3 separate regions of the Homo sapiens genome follow, and regions 2 and 3 are each linked to region 1. Evidence: promoter capture Hi-C in 16 types of primary human blood cells and fetal thymus (Javierre and others, 2016). All regions are on one chromosome and are shown on one strand. Each heading gives the region's core, a stretch centred on a gene start or on the middle of the fragment in contact. The rest is flanking DNA. Distances are from core to core; before and after follow the strand shown. Region 1 holds the start of SLC9A9 (solute carrier family 9 member A9). Region 2 holds the start of LOC105374137 (a long non-coding RNA gene). Region 3 has its middle 38 kb from the start of CHST2.

Evidence for each region. Contacts are between HindIII fragments. The CHiCAGO score rates a contact against its expected background, and 5 or more counts as called.
Region 2: a fragment that was not itself captured here is called in contact with the fragment with the promoter of SLC9A9 in region 1 in 1 of 17 cell types (M1 macrophages); the score reaches 5.9 in M1 macrophages.
Region 3: a fragment that was not itself captured here is called in contact with the fragment with the promoter of SLC9A9 in region 1 in 1 of 17 cell types (M1 macrophages); the score reaches 5.7 in M1 macrophages.

The regions. Positions count from the first base shown.
Region 1 is chr3:143,845,346-143,850,327 of GRCh38, forward strand. It overlaps SLC9A9 (solute carrier family 9 member A9), which reads right to left and starts at 3,123. Exons shown (of 16, transcript NM_173653.4): 1 at 2,803-3,123. The coding sequence starts at 2,977. The HindIII fragment of the contact is 4,941 bases long and covers 1-4,635 here.
Region 2 is chr3:143,132,207-143,137,188 of GRCh38, forward strand. LOC105374137 (a long non-coding RNA gene) reads right to left here and starts at 592. Exons shown (of 3, transcript XR_924554.3): 1 at 505-592. The HindIII fragment of the contact is 2,280 bases long and covers 809-3,088 here.
Region 3 is chr3:143,155,532-143,160,513 of GRCh38, forward strand. No RefSeq gene overlaps it. Among named protein-coding and RNA genes, the nearest start is that of CHST2, 38 kb to the left of the region's middle. The HindIII fragment of the contact is 2,781 bases long and covers 1,057-3,837 here.

The DNA.
Region 1 (4,982 bases), core at 1,873-4,372:
AGTGTTTACTACAGTATCCCATCATGTTCCTCTGGTGTAGTTTCAGACTATTTTATTACATTACTGATAGAAAGTTCCTAATAAGCATTTAAGATATAACATTTAGGACATCCCTGAAGAAGAAATGTGACAAGTCATGAATGCCACCCATATGGAGTACTTTCAGAAAACACAGGGAGAGTTCTTTCAGGTGAACGTGAACCTTAGTAAGACATGCAGATGAGTGAAAGCACATGGACCAGTCATGAGTGGCTATTCAGTTTTGGAAAGTCCCTTCACTTCTCTGGGATTCAGCTTCTGCCTCTCTAAAATAAAGGGGATAGAGAAGATAACCTCTAAAATTCTTTGACATCCTAACAATTATGATTCTATGCCAAGAAAAAGTTAAACATCACTAAAATATGTCTTTTCATTGATCTATATAGTTCAAGATAACTGAAAGATACTCAAAATTTCTAGTAAGAGAATACATATATATGCATATCTCCATAATTTTTATAATCCTTTTACATTGCACTGGTTCAGAATTTGCTTTCAATAACTTTTACTTTAAAAAACTCATGAAAGAAGAATAGGAATCAGAGAACCCAACTTAATTCCACTCATAAACTTTAAGCCTTTATCTGCCTTAAGAACAGCAATTTAGAGAAATGCTACCTCAATAGCAGTGGTCAATGAACTACTATTTTATTATTTCAAGCACAATTTAAAAATATTTCAGAGAGTTTTGCAGGATTAAAGGTAACCTGGAATTTTTCAGATTCAAAAGTAAGAGTTACTGTATGTATTGTGAATGCAAAACATGACTGAATTTTAGTAGGTTATCAAAACTTTTACGAAAACAATATCCCCACCATTGAACTTGGTAAATGAGTCATAGTTCAATCAAATTCAGGGATGTGAAGAAATCTTTCCCTCTAATAAAGGTTGGCAATCTATTAAATCTGGGTAGTTTTGCTAAAGCACATATGTCCCTTTAATATGATATCAAGAATTACATTGTTTCTGGCTTCTCAGATTCTATTCCATATCCTTGCAGATTACTTATTAGTCAAGTCAAGAGAAAAATTCTGTTCATGATGGAGATAGGCAAATGACAGGAACCTAGGGCTTCACATCTGATGGCATCCCCTCCTTTTTGTTTGGCTATTTCTCTCCCACCTGATTGTGATTTTTTTTTTCTCTTAAATGAGAGTTTTCTTGTGCCCGTTAAGACCCTCAATACTGGCTGGGAATGGTGGCTCATGCCCGTAATGCCAGCATTTTGGGAGGCCAAGGTCAGTGGATCTCTTTAGGCCAGGAGTTGGAGACCAGCCTGGGCAACATAGTGAGACCCTGTCTCCACTAAATTTTAAAAAATAAATAAAACAATACAGCAAAAAAAGGTTTTTTTTTTTTTTGCATTTGGGTTATGTTTTTTTTCTTTTTTTAATTATACTTTAAGTTTTAGGGTACATGTGCACAACGTGCAGGTTAGTTACATATGTATACATGTGCCATGTTGGTGTGCTGCACCCATTAACTCGTCATTTAACATCAGGTATATCTCCTAATGCTGTCCCTCCCCACTCCCAAGCAAAAAATTTTTAAAAGACCCTCAGTACCAAGGAATTTAACTCTGTGCTCTGAATGGATCAGCATATCAGCCTCCTGAGCCTGAAACTTCCGCCTTATAGCTCAAGTATCTCACAGTGGGATCCACTTAAGGCTTAGGATTCCTTAGGTTCTGAAATCACAACTATACACTGTTAATATCAGGACACCACAGGATTAGCATATACAATGTGCATTGATCTGTACCCTGAATCTCAGGCTTAGGAAAGGGTTTCAGGATTTCCAAAATGAGGAAACCCCAAATATAAAAGTATGTTATTTGCTATAAATTATAGCAATGCCTTGCCTGTTGCCATTGTGTTCAAACTTCCTATCCATTATCAGGCTGAGATAAGAGCAGTGAAGTAAACTATTTCATCAGTAACACCAGTAAAAACTGGTGTCTTTCATTTTACTTTAAAAGATGAGAGTACAGACAGATAATCTCTGTCAGACTTTATTAAACTTTCTGAAAGGAATGATACGGTAAGTTGCCCAGAAAGAGCAATACTGCAGGTGTTAAATATTTTTCCACACCTTGGCCTCCAATACATAAATAGGAGATACATAACAAATAACACTAGCAATGATCATTATAAATTAGAACATCTGAAATCAGGCTAAGAAGTAAAAAGTACTGCATAAAGAAACTCTCGTTTATTTATAACTTTTTATTATAAGAAAATAAGACACTGTTCGTATAAATAAAAAGGACTTGGACACAATATTCTCTTAAGAGGGGTGGGGTTAGTTTCTGCAAGTTTTCTTCTTGAAATTAGTTGATATAAGAGGAATTACTCCAGGCATTTTGAAGTGATGTTTTTTCTAGAACTTCGTAATGTTCATCGGTGCAGCCAGTGAGAGAAGGCTGCTCTTTGTGACTGCAGAGCCATCACTTCCCAACATCATTACAAAAACAAACAGCTCGCCCTCGACTCCCCACATGACAATGGACCCGCATCTGTCAACAGACTTGCATTATGTGCCGTGTGAGAACATGACTGTGACATTTGCTCTCGTGACATGGCAAATTTCGGCGGCTTGTCTGTAAAGAGATTAGCATTCGTTACGCTGCAGCACCTTTCATCAAACTAATGACATTTCAATCAGCACATTTTCTCCAGTTTCGGTACTTTGCTATCTGAGCACAAGTCTCTAATTACGCTCAAGCAACAAGTTTCACATCAATCTCACAATTTATGCACTCACCATACACCATTGCTCCTCCAGTTTCATGCAAGAAGCGGAATCGATGATTTTTAAATAACCAGATTGTCAAAATGGTAAGGATGAGCAAAAAATTGAAGACAAGCAGCTCCACCGCTCCCTGATGTTGAAACTGATACTCATCCTTTTCTGACATAACCCTTGACTGTCTCTCCATTCCCCAGTCTTCTTGGGATTCCTTAGATAAAAACCTGGATAAAGGCTATTTTATCAAGATTTGCCTAAGACAGTCTGACTGCCTGAGAATTTCAGAAGAAACACTGCCACTTTAGTTGCTACTTCACAAGCATTCTGCCCTGGCTTAGTATTCAGATGGCTTCTAGTTACAACTTCCTGTTTCTCTCTTAAAGCAGCCCTGTCTCTTTTCAAACTCGAGAGTGTGTGGTTTCATCACTGACTCTTAATGTCTTTAAGTGATTCATCTCATGAAAATATCTTTCATACTGGACAAATCTGCAAGCAATGATGCTAAGATCTTGAATCACGGTCTTATTATTCCAAATAAGTCTTCTTAAGCTGCATAAATATGAACTGTAGATTAATAATAAAAAAGGTAGCCTTACACTAGCAACGTTTTCTAAGTTCAAAAAGCCAATTCCTGACTCAACTTCACCTAAATGCAAGATCTTTCCTCTCTAACCAAGACCTGCCAAAGTGATGGGGATTGATAGCACAGTTATCAATCAGCCTCTGTGCTCTAAATGGATCAGCATATTAGCCTCCTGAAAAGATATTACACTGCTTAGCCTGAAACTTCCGCCTCATAGCTCAAGTATCTCACAATGGGATTCACTTAAGGCATAGGGTTTCTTATAGGGTTTCTTATGCTCTCAAATCATGACTGTACATTGGTTAAGCAAACCTAAAGTGATTTCACAGGATTTTTTTTTTTTTTTTTTAGTTGAGAAGCAAGAAAGGATTTAGTATATGACTCTATTTGGCTTTATATAATTGATAGTTGCAGAGCAGCCTTTAAACTCTAAATCAATTGTTTTTCTTTTAACAAGAGAAAACAATGAAAGCAAAAGACAAATAAAATTCCATCCCCATCTCTACAACTGTACTGTTTGGATACGTTGAGACAAAAAAGAAAAAAAACAAAACACATTACTTCGAAAGAGAAACTCACGCAGCCATCCTCAGCAACGCCACATGCATGGATTTCTCTTTGTAGGGTTCCTGGTCTCGGCATCCAGGACCCACAGAAATCTGCAATAGATCACAACCTCCTCTGTCCTATGGCAAAACAATGTTGCTCACTGAGAAATGGTTCTGCCACCAGAAATGAAAGCTCTGTATTCACAGGATTCTGATCATAAGAGTGATGATTCTTCAGATCATCTTCCATGTGGCAGGTTGCTCCTGTCTGATTTCATATTTTTCTACTTTAAAATAGTTCAAGATAATACCATGGGTTCTGCAGCTTTTTTTTCCTTTTCTTTCTTTTTTCTTAGCAAATATTATGACCTGCTTGCTTTTAACACTTGATCCTATAACACATTTGGGTATATCCTGGGGTTAGCTGATTTTTTTTTTCATTTTACCATATCATTGTAATTTGGGAGTATTAATCACTTATGATCCCCATTTTGACACAATTAATGCTCAATTTATACAATGTGATTTCTTATTGAGTAGGCTGAGCCCAAATGCGTCCTGAAACAATTTTTGTCACTAAAAGCTAAAGGTCAAGCATGTAATATTATTGGGAGCTAACTACCTCCTCAACAAACAGTTTCACCATGAGAGCAAGTCTATCAACCCCTTAATACAAAGCTCTGCTGTTTCAGCATCTTTGCTTTGTGCAACTTTGGAAGCTTATTTCCTCTCTGAGTTTAACTTAGCAGAGGGTATTTATGTGTGCTGCAGATGTTCTTCTGACACGCTACCCTTTTTGGCAGGAATATCTGTGATGACTAATATTCATACTGTTTTGAAACCTATCAGCTAATGCTTGCAAGCATTTCATGGAGCTTTGCTAGCAGGTTCTACCTTTATGATTTTGCAACTCCACAGGTTCAGTCGAGTTGTCAGATATACAAGATAACACAAATTCAGAAACTTCCTGTCCTTTTGTTTTTTGTCATTATTGAATTACTTTGGTTTTCTTTTATCACAATTATTCCATCTGAGTAGAATAAACATTCTCTGGTTGATCCGTG
Region 2 (4,982 bases), core at 699-3,198, 710 kb before region 1:
TTTTTTTCCATGACTAGGGAATGGGACTGGCATTTAGTGGGCTGGAAGCAATAATGCTGAATGTTCTGCCTTGCTGAGGACAGTCCCACATAATGAATTGTCCTGCTCCAAATGTTAATAGTGGTCCCCTTGAGAAATACCGAGCTAAATTAAGCCAAAGAAAATTACACACTGACTCAGAACTGAGAATAAGGCTGTCTCATAATGATACTCAATAAATGTTAATAAATGATATCACCAAGGTTGTCATCAGAATCATCATTGCTATTTTGGACATTTGTGGCTATAATGAATTTAAAGGTTGCATGATTTTTTTTCTAGCTACATTCTGCTGCTTTTATTCAGGTGTGGAGAAGATGGATAGTTGGATGATGGGTAATGGATGGGGAAAAAGTAGGAGAAATATTGGACTGGAACTCTATGAGATCAGATATTTGAAATATATATATGGTTATGGTATGATAGAATGCAGAAATGTAGTGGGTAAGAATTCTTGAAACCTACATTTCTGGGGTGGTGAGGTTGTCACTGATCAACAACAAGAGTAGCTATGTTGAATCAGAGCACGAAGATGATAAGAAGCTGAAAGGCCAGGATGTCAAATGGGTTCCTAAAATGGATATTGAAATCATGAGTAATGGTAGAAAGGGTCATGGCGGAGAGGAAGTCATTGATCTGGGCACTCAACTCTTGCAGTTGTGCTTGCTTTTGAAGATGGCACTGTCCTCTCCTACAACTCATTTGGTCTTGTCTTGTTCCAATGCATAAACCAGCTCATTATTCCATCTGTTTGTTCAATGCCTGTGGAAGCTTCTATTCTAGCCCACACCAATGTCTCCTTTCTCTTTGCACAAATTAGCACTCAGCTGCACAGTCTTTTATATTGGCCTCAAATTATTAGATGTGTGTCAGTCTGGTCAATATGGCAATTTAATCACCTTGGGAGCAATTAAACCACACTTTTCATTTCTTATCTCCTGCACAGGAAGTAGTGAATGAACTATTTCTGAAGTGACTGATTTGCACCATGGTAGAGGTAGGGGTGGAGGAGGGTTGACTTAAAAGCCCCCAAGAAACCAATCAGCAGTCCTTTCCAGACTGGCACTGTGTGCACTTTGCCATTTTGCCCTGTATCTGGGGACACACACACACACACACACACACACACACACACATTGATAGTGTTTATCAGGTACCGGTGTCTTTCTCCATGCCCTCATTGCCCCCTGCTCATGCTTCTAAAACACCTCTTAGCACTGACTGTGGGACAGTGGCTGCCCAGCATCCAAGCCCTGATTTTCTTTTGGAAATCTGTCTCCTGCTTCTTTGGTGCATGTGGTTGTGTTGGATCTAACTTCACACACAACTCTAGCATTTGCCATGCTGACTTTCCCAAGACCAAAATGATCGGCTAAGGACTGAGCACATGACCCAATTAGAGCCAATGAGATATCTTGATATTTTTGCTCAGATTTCGGGGTTAGGCAGGCATTCTTATTTAAAGAGGAGAAGACATAAGGACTGGTATCCATGGTGCCTCTAGAAGACAGTCAAATTGTGGAGAGCAGAGCCAAAAGATACGGAGAGAGAAACCACAGACTGGTGGACAAAGGGAAGCTAGGTTCTGGTGAAGTCATTTTAGCCCTGCTAAAATGGGTCTGAAGTCAGCCTTACCCTTGGTTTGCAATTAGAGGAGCCAGTTACATTTCCTTTTTGTTTGAGCCACTGTAGATTGGATGTTTTCTTCCTTATAGTGCAAAGAATCTCAACAAGTGCAGAATTTACCCAGTGTGTTATAAGCTGTTTCTCCTATTACAGGACAAGCTCCTGTAAGGCAGGGCTCTTGTCTTATCTGTGTGCTTCCAGCAGAAGGCACAGTGTCTGGCACGCGGGATGCCTCCAAACCATGTTTATTTTACTGTGTATGGAATGGTCTCACTTTACAGCATTGCTCTTCAAAGTCGGGTCCTTGGACCAGCAGTATCAGCCCCTCTCTAGACTGCCAGATCATAATCTGCATTTATTTATTTATTTATTTTTAGAGATGGGGTCTCTGTCACCTAGGCTGGAGTTCAGTGGCACGATCATAGCTCACTGTAGCCTCGAACCCTTGGGCTCAAGCGATCCTCCCATCTACATTTTAATAAGATCCTCAGGTGATTCCTGTGCTTTTGGGAAGGATTGCTCTACAGACTTATAGTCAATTGCATTTTGCAAACATCTGGCCTGGAGTGGTTGTGCTGGCCTAAAGAGTACCACCTCAGTTCAGTAATTCTGGCTGCATTTCAAGACTCTACCAGTAGGTATCTTGTCCACAGGATTCCATAAATTTACAGATAAGATGCTCAGAAAGCCAGGTGTGGCATCTGCAGTAGTCCAGTCCCACAGAGTGAGGGAGGTGAAAGACCCCCACAGCTTCACCATGGTTGCCTGGATCCCTTCCTGGCACCATGTCCTGGCAGCCTGCCAAAGGACTGAGCATTTGTTTACCTATGAATATGTTAACAACCCACTAGATTCTTGGTTTTGGGAGCCTGGAGAAGGCTAAGTGAAACCTGAATTCTGTCACAGTCTAGGGAATAATACATGTTAAAATGAATTCTGGGCTTCCATCCTGCAGCATTTTAGCCATGTGGCTGGGTCCAGGATTCGATTCTTAGAGTCTTTTCAAGCATATGATATTAGGAGGGATGAAGGCAAACAAGCGTTGTATAAATCACATAAAAAGACTAAGATTTCCATTTCTGAGCTTGTTTTTGGGTGATGAGAAAGTTTGGTTTGTCAGACACCCTACAAATTACATTATGTATAAATGACAATGTAAATCTATTCATTTCTTTTCTGATTTCCACTTATCCCCTTTAGTAAGAATATATTTCTTACCCTAAGAGTTTTACACCCAGCTATAACACATTCATTTTGAGTGAATTTAGAAAAACAGAGTCTCATCTAAGGAACATACATGCATGTTACCATACATATGCATATTAACATAAATGATTTGCACAACTTTTAATAATGTGAGACAGAAAGAATGAGTCACTTCTTTTCTGTAACTTAAGAATTTGCTTAAAAATGCATATTAGGAAGCTTCAAGCTGGGGGCAGGAGAGGAACACATTCATATTCCTTGTAGCTGCGGTTTGCTCTCCTGGAAGTGGGAGTGATGACTAATAACATTGTCTCTATGGGGATGTGGTCCTGGCATTGCCATTGGCAGTTGCCCTTCCGGGCTTTTCAAACCATCTGCAATAACTTCTGTCTTCTGGTCATTACTTCTTCCAGTCCCCATTCTACAGACTGTGGGTCAGTTCTCTAACTTACAGTAATGTTATGATTCCCATTCTCCCCCCAAAATATCAGAGGACTTCCAGGAGGTCTTAATTGCTTATAGATGGTTACCTCACCACTCTGATGAAAATATTCTGGTTGTGGTAACTTGCATTTTAATATCCAACATCTTACTTTTTCTTTGTTTCTTTGTGGCAGGTTAAGTACTTTCATTTATATAATTTTTGACAGCCAGCATGGTCTATAACTCCAGTAAATGGCAGAGAACAGAGCTACTACATACTAAACAGAACACATTGTGAAACACACTAGACTTGGGGTATCCTGGAGGAGCACGCATTGGGCAAGAGTAATTTCCACAGTTGGCCACCCTGGCTCTCACCACTGAGTGTGGGGAAAAATCCACAGACCATGGCAATAGATGGTTAGCTATCCATTATATCTAGCTCTCTAGATACACACACAGTCATGTGTGCACAAACATGCATGTGTATGTGTATTTGTAAGGAGGCTGTCTCATAGACAAATAGCATTTTAACATATCAGAGCTGTGCAAGGTGAGGCTAAACAGGGGTCGAGTGCACTTAATGGCCAGCTGATGCAGGTGAATGCATTTTGCTCAGGGAGAAGTACCAGCCCTTTTAGATTAGCTAAGATGATGGTTTGTTCACTTTTTTTTTTTTTTGAGATGGAGTCTCGCTCTTGTCACCCACGCTGAACTGCAATGAAGCAATCTTGGCTCACTGCATCCTCCGCCTCCTAGGTTCAAGCGATTCTCCTGCCTCAGCCTCCTGAGTAGCTGAGATTACAGGTGCCTGCCACCAGGCCTGGCTAATTTTGTATTTTTAGTAGAGACGGGGTTTCACCATGTTGGCCAGGCTGGTCTCGAACTCCCAACCTCAAGTGAACCGTCTGCCTCGGCCTCCCAAAGTGCTGGGATTACAGGCATGAGCCACTGCGTCCAGTGGTTTGTTCACTTTTAAAAAGCAACTTTACATTGGCAATGAATGAGTAGAAAATATTTCCTTCCTTTGACATCCAGAGGATGATTGTTTGCAATCTTGATGTAGTGCCCTGCTCTAGCCACAGTTCTGTGCATATATTTAGTCCTCACAGTGACCCTCTAACATAGCCACTACTCATATCCTTGTCTACAGATGATGCACAGAGAGGAGGAGTAAACTGCTTAAGGTCACACAGCTAGTAATTGGTATAGCCAGTCCATTTCATCCCAGAGCCCATGCTCTTACTGTTCACCTTTAATTTCTCCATTAAAGAGGTTAGGCCAGGCACAGTGGTTTATACCTGTAATCCCAGCACTTTGGGAGGCCAAGGTGGGAGGATCACTGGAGGTCAGGAGTTTAAGACCAGCCTGGCCAACATAGTGAGCCCTCATCTCTACCAAAAAAAAAAATAAATAAAAATAAAAATAAAATAAAATAAAATAAAATAAAATAAAATAAAAAAGGAGGCCGAGGTGGCAGGATCACTTAGGCCTAGGAGTTTGATGCTGCAGTGAGCTATGATTACATCACTACTGCACTCCAGCCTGGGTGGCAGAGTGAGACCCTGACTCTAAAAAGAAAAAAGAAAAAGAATTTACAGGTGTTCTTATTTTAGATTGACATGGCTACATTGCCTGCTGTCAAGTTAAAAACCTAGAATAGGTCTGGTTATTTGCCAAGAAGAAAA
Region 3 (4,982 bases), core at 1,197-3,696, 690 kb before region 1:
TATTAAAAAACTTATTTTGAGATCATTTATGATTTACAGAGGAGTTACAAAAATAGTGCGGGGTTCCCATATACTCTTTACCAAGCTTCCTCTAGCATTAAAATCTTAAATAACTACAGTATAATTATGAAAACTAAGAGATGAACACTGGTATAATACTATTAACTAAACTATAGGCTTTATTAGAATTTTCCCAGTTTTTGTTTTTTTTACTAAGTGTCTATTTCTATTTCAAAATCCAATGCATCATACTCAGTCACTCTCACCACTTCTATTTAACACAGGACTGGAAGTCCTACAGCAATTAGGCAAGCTAGAACAACTAGGCAAGAAAAAGAAATGAAAGGCATTCAAATTGGAAAGGAAGAAGTAAAATTATCTCTGTTCACAGATGACGTAAACTTACAGGTAGAAAATTCTAAAGATTGCACAAGTAAACTGTTAAGTAATAAATGAATCGTGCAAACTTGCAGGTTACAAAATCACCACACCAAGAAAACAGCTGCATTTTTATAGACTAGCAATGAACGATCTGAAAGGACCGTTTACATTAACATCAAAGAGAATAAAATAGTAGGAATACACTTAACCAAGAGGGTAAAAGATTTGAACACTAAAAACTACAAAACATTGCTGAAAGAAATCAAAGAAGATGTAAATAAATGGAAAGATATCCCATGTTAATTAATTGGAAGACTTAATATTGTTAAGATGCCCATACTACCCAAAGTGATCTATGCATTCAAAACAATCCCTATCAAAATCTCAATGGCACTTTCTTTACAGAAATAAAAAAAATTCCAAAATTTATATAGAACCACAAAAGACCATGAGTAGCGAAGTCAATCTTGAAAAAGAACAATAAAGCTGGAGGTATCAGCTTTTGGAAATATTTCCTGATACTTTAAAATCAGGAAATACTCCTTATGCCACGCACAAAATTTTGAAATCATGAAATACTTCTTACACCCTGCACAAAAGTTAACTCAAAATGGATTGAAGACTTAAACATAAGAGCTAAAACTATAAAACTCTTAGAAGAAAACACACGAGAAAAGCTTAGTGACTGGATTTAGCAATGATTTCTTGGATATTATGCCAAAAAATAGATAAATTGGATTTCATCAAAATTAATTTTTTGTGCATCAAAGGATACTATCTAGAAGATAAAGGCAACCTACAAAATGGGAGAAAACTTTTGTAAATCATATACTGGTAAGAGATTAATATCCAGGATATTTAAAGAACTCCAAAAACTTAGTAAAAACCACCACAACAAAGCAGTTCAATTAAACATGAGCAAATGACTTGATACTGATATTTCTTCAAGGGAGATATACAAATGGCCAAGAAGTACATGAAAAAACACTCAACATCAGAAATCATTAGGGAAATGCAAATTGAAACCTCAATGAGGTACCACATCACGCCTCTTAGGATGGCTATTATCCTCAAAACAGAAAACAAGTGTTGGTGAGAATATGGAGAAATTAGAACCCTTGCGTATTGCCTTAGGGAGTATAAAATGGTGCAGTCACTGTGGAAGACAATATGGCAGTCCCTAAAAAAAGTGAAATGTAAAACTACCAGATGATCCAGCAATTCCACTTTTATGTATATACCCCAAAGAATCAAAAGCAGAGACTTGGTCAGACATTTGTACTGTAAAGTCCATAGCAACATTATTCACAATAGCCAAAAGGTGGTGGAAGAAGCTCAAATGCCTATTAATGGATGAATGGATAAACAAAATGTGGCATATGCATACAATGGAATATTATACAACCTTAAGGAATGAAGTTTTTATGCATGCTGCAACATGGATGAACCTTGAAAACATTATGCAAAGTGAAATAAGCCAGACACAAAAGGATAAATGTTACGTGATCCCACTTATATGAAGTATCTAGAATAGTCAAGTTCATAGAGGAATGAAAGTAGACTGGTGGTTACTAGGAGCTGGATGGAGGGGACAATGGGGAGTTATTGTTCAAAGGGCATGAACATTTCAGTTCAGAAGGATAGAAAAATTCTGGAGGTAGATGGTGATGGTTGCATAACGATGTGAATGTACTTAATATCATTGCATTGTACACCTAAAAAGGATTAAGATGGTAAGTTTTATGTTATGTATATTTTGCCAGAATAAAATAAAATAGCCATAAGTTCACACTGCTATCTCTGGCTCCAATCCAGCCCCACAGGGTTTATTCTAGCCATCTCCCTTTCTTTATTGATAACTTCTTTCTCTAACAGAAAGAAACTTGGTTTTCATTATCTATAATATGTTTACTTATAATGTTCAACACTAGCACACAAAGTAGTTTCAGAATTGCTAACTTAGCACGCTTGTGAGAAACAAATTTACCAACTAGAGTACAGTATTTATGTACATTCTTTTTGTCTTTAGCCTTATAGTGTCCAGTCAAGATACTGTTTTCCAAAGTGACTTAGTTCAGATCCTTTCTTCCTCACCTTCTTCAATGTAGTTATGTCATTCATTTGTAATTCAGTTAAGTTCATTTGTCACAGTGCTTACTGGACAGCCAATGAGGTCATGCATTTGGAGTGCCTAATGCACTACCTGGCATGGAGAAGGGCCTTAAGAAATATGAGCTGAACCTGAATTTGTGGCACTGATTAGTGCTGTCCATCAACCTCATTACTTTGGCTCCATGAAATGTCAAAAGAGCTTTGACCAGGTTTCAAGTGTCTGTGACTCAGAACTAAGGTAACTGGCCCACAAGAATCAAGTCAGAAGTGCTGCCCTCATTAGCATCATGTTCTAGACAGCTGAGCCACTTATCATAGGACAACAAATCTGGGGGTTTAAATGGTGAATAACAGTGAAAGATGTGAATCATGCAAGGGACAGAAGATTTCAGGGGTGTAGAACTGTGCAGAAACCCAATGCAATCAGAGCTGATTCCCTCATGTCCTTGTCTCCTGAAATAGCCCACAGTTCTCCACACATTAGCTCTTCCACATTAGTCACCTCTTGATTTCTGTAGTGGATTCTGATGCAGTTCACCAGTGCCAAATGATGCATCTCCCTGGTCACTTGAAATTCAGTTAGGATTTTTTTTGGTTGCAGGCAACAGGAACCAATCCTAGCTAACGTAAGAGAAAAAGAAATGTGCTGGAGGCTATGAGGCAGCTCACAGAATTAAAGGAGCAGCTGTTGGATCTTGTTTCGGGACAACAGTGACTGGGGAAACCCCAGGAAGCACAGTAACAGGAACCAGCCATCACTGTGTCCAGGGCATGGCTGCTAGGATGAGTCAAGTCCAGAAACTTCTTTATGTGTCTCTCCCCTCAAGATTCAATTCTTGAGGGTTTCCCTTGGCCATAGCCTGGGTCACATGCTCATCTTTGGTGGGAAGGCAGAACACCTTGAATAGAGAGTCCCCAGTGGGAGCAGGTGGTAAACCCCAAACAGCAGATGTTCACTACATTCTATGAGGTACTCATCTTCCTCCCATTTAATGTGAGAAATAAGTTAATTTATCAATAAAACAACAAAACAATAGACTCCCCTTTTCCATGTTTCCTACAAGTATTCCAATCCTCACTGCCAGGGCTGTTATGAGCAGGTGGGGTTGGCTTTGCTGTTGTCTGAGTGGTGTTCTGGGCCATCCTTCAGGGCAGTACAAAACCTATGGTCAGGACAGGTCCCTCAGACATTTATCCCAGCTCTTTTCAACCAGCCCTCTGCTATAGGGCTTGGGTGTTGGTTTGAAGCACTAGGATTTTCCCAATTTCACATTTTATGAAAACCTCAAATAACATCCAACTAGAAATTAGGTTGGGTATGAGAGTCAGTTTAATCTAATACCAAGCTTAAGAGCATAAGCTTTGTAAGTAGAATGACTGGAGTTCAAATCCTGATGTGACCACACACTGGCTATATATTCTTTGATGTTATTTAACTTCTTTAAGGCTCAGTTGCCTAATCTGTAAAATATGGAGAGGGTCTAGCAGAGTCAGAGGTAGGAGCAATGGGTTTAGATACTTGGGTTGATTCTCTGGTGCACACTCATTAGCTATATGATCGTGGGCAAGTTACTTAGTGTCTTTTCATCTTTTCCTTATCAGTAAAATGGGATAATGGTAGTACCTTCTTCCAAGATTTGATCTGAGAACTAAATGAAATAATGTGCATAAGTTGCCAGTGTTGTTATTAACACTGAGTTTTCTGGAGGATTACATGAGCTCCTGTATGTGAGGTGCTTGTCGTAAGTCCTTCCTTGCTAGGGCAAGACCTTAGTAAATGGTGGCCACTGATATTGTGTGGCTTCATAGCTGTTTGTGAATTTCCTGTTTTTCCTTACATTGGTAAGGAAAAACAAAATTACATTGGTGTGGGTAATTGAGTTGCTGTGCATGTACATATATATTTTAAGCAAATTTCTTCATATCTGGTAGGAGATTCCCCATTGCTGTTGTTTTCTTCAGATAATTCTAAAAGATTGCAAAGACCTGAGGAGACTTTTAGAAAAATGTTTATAGACTGATTTGATTTGACAATCAAACTGCTTCTTGAGTTTCTGAAATGGTGAGACTTGTCCTTCCCTGCAAGACTCTTTTCATTTTTACAAGGTAGAGCTGAGAATGTATTCTCATAATTTAGCTGAAGGAAACAACAGACAGCCCTTTTTTGAAAAAGTCCGAGTTCTTTGTCCCTGGTTTCCCAACAGATTTGCTGAATTCTCCACTTAACTTTGCTTGTGGAAACAGAAATTCTTGACTGTGTCCTGGTACTAGGGGTCACCCACGGATCCCACGAACAGGATTTGGAAGCTCACCTTCTCATTGGCTGTGGAATCAGGAGGGTTTCTCTTCATAGAACCTGGATTTCATATCTATGTCACACACTCTGCCATTTGGCTTTTTAATTCCTTCTGAGTCGCCGGATGCTGCTGTCCGTCCTCACCCCTGTGTTTCTCTATAGGATACCTAACCTCTCCCCGGGGGACTTCGGT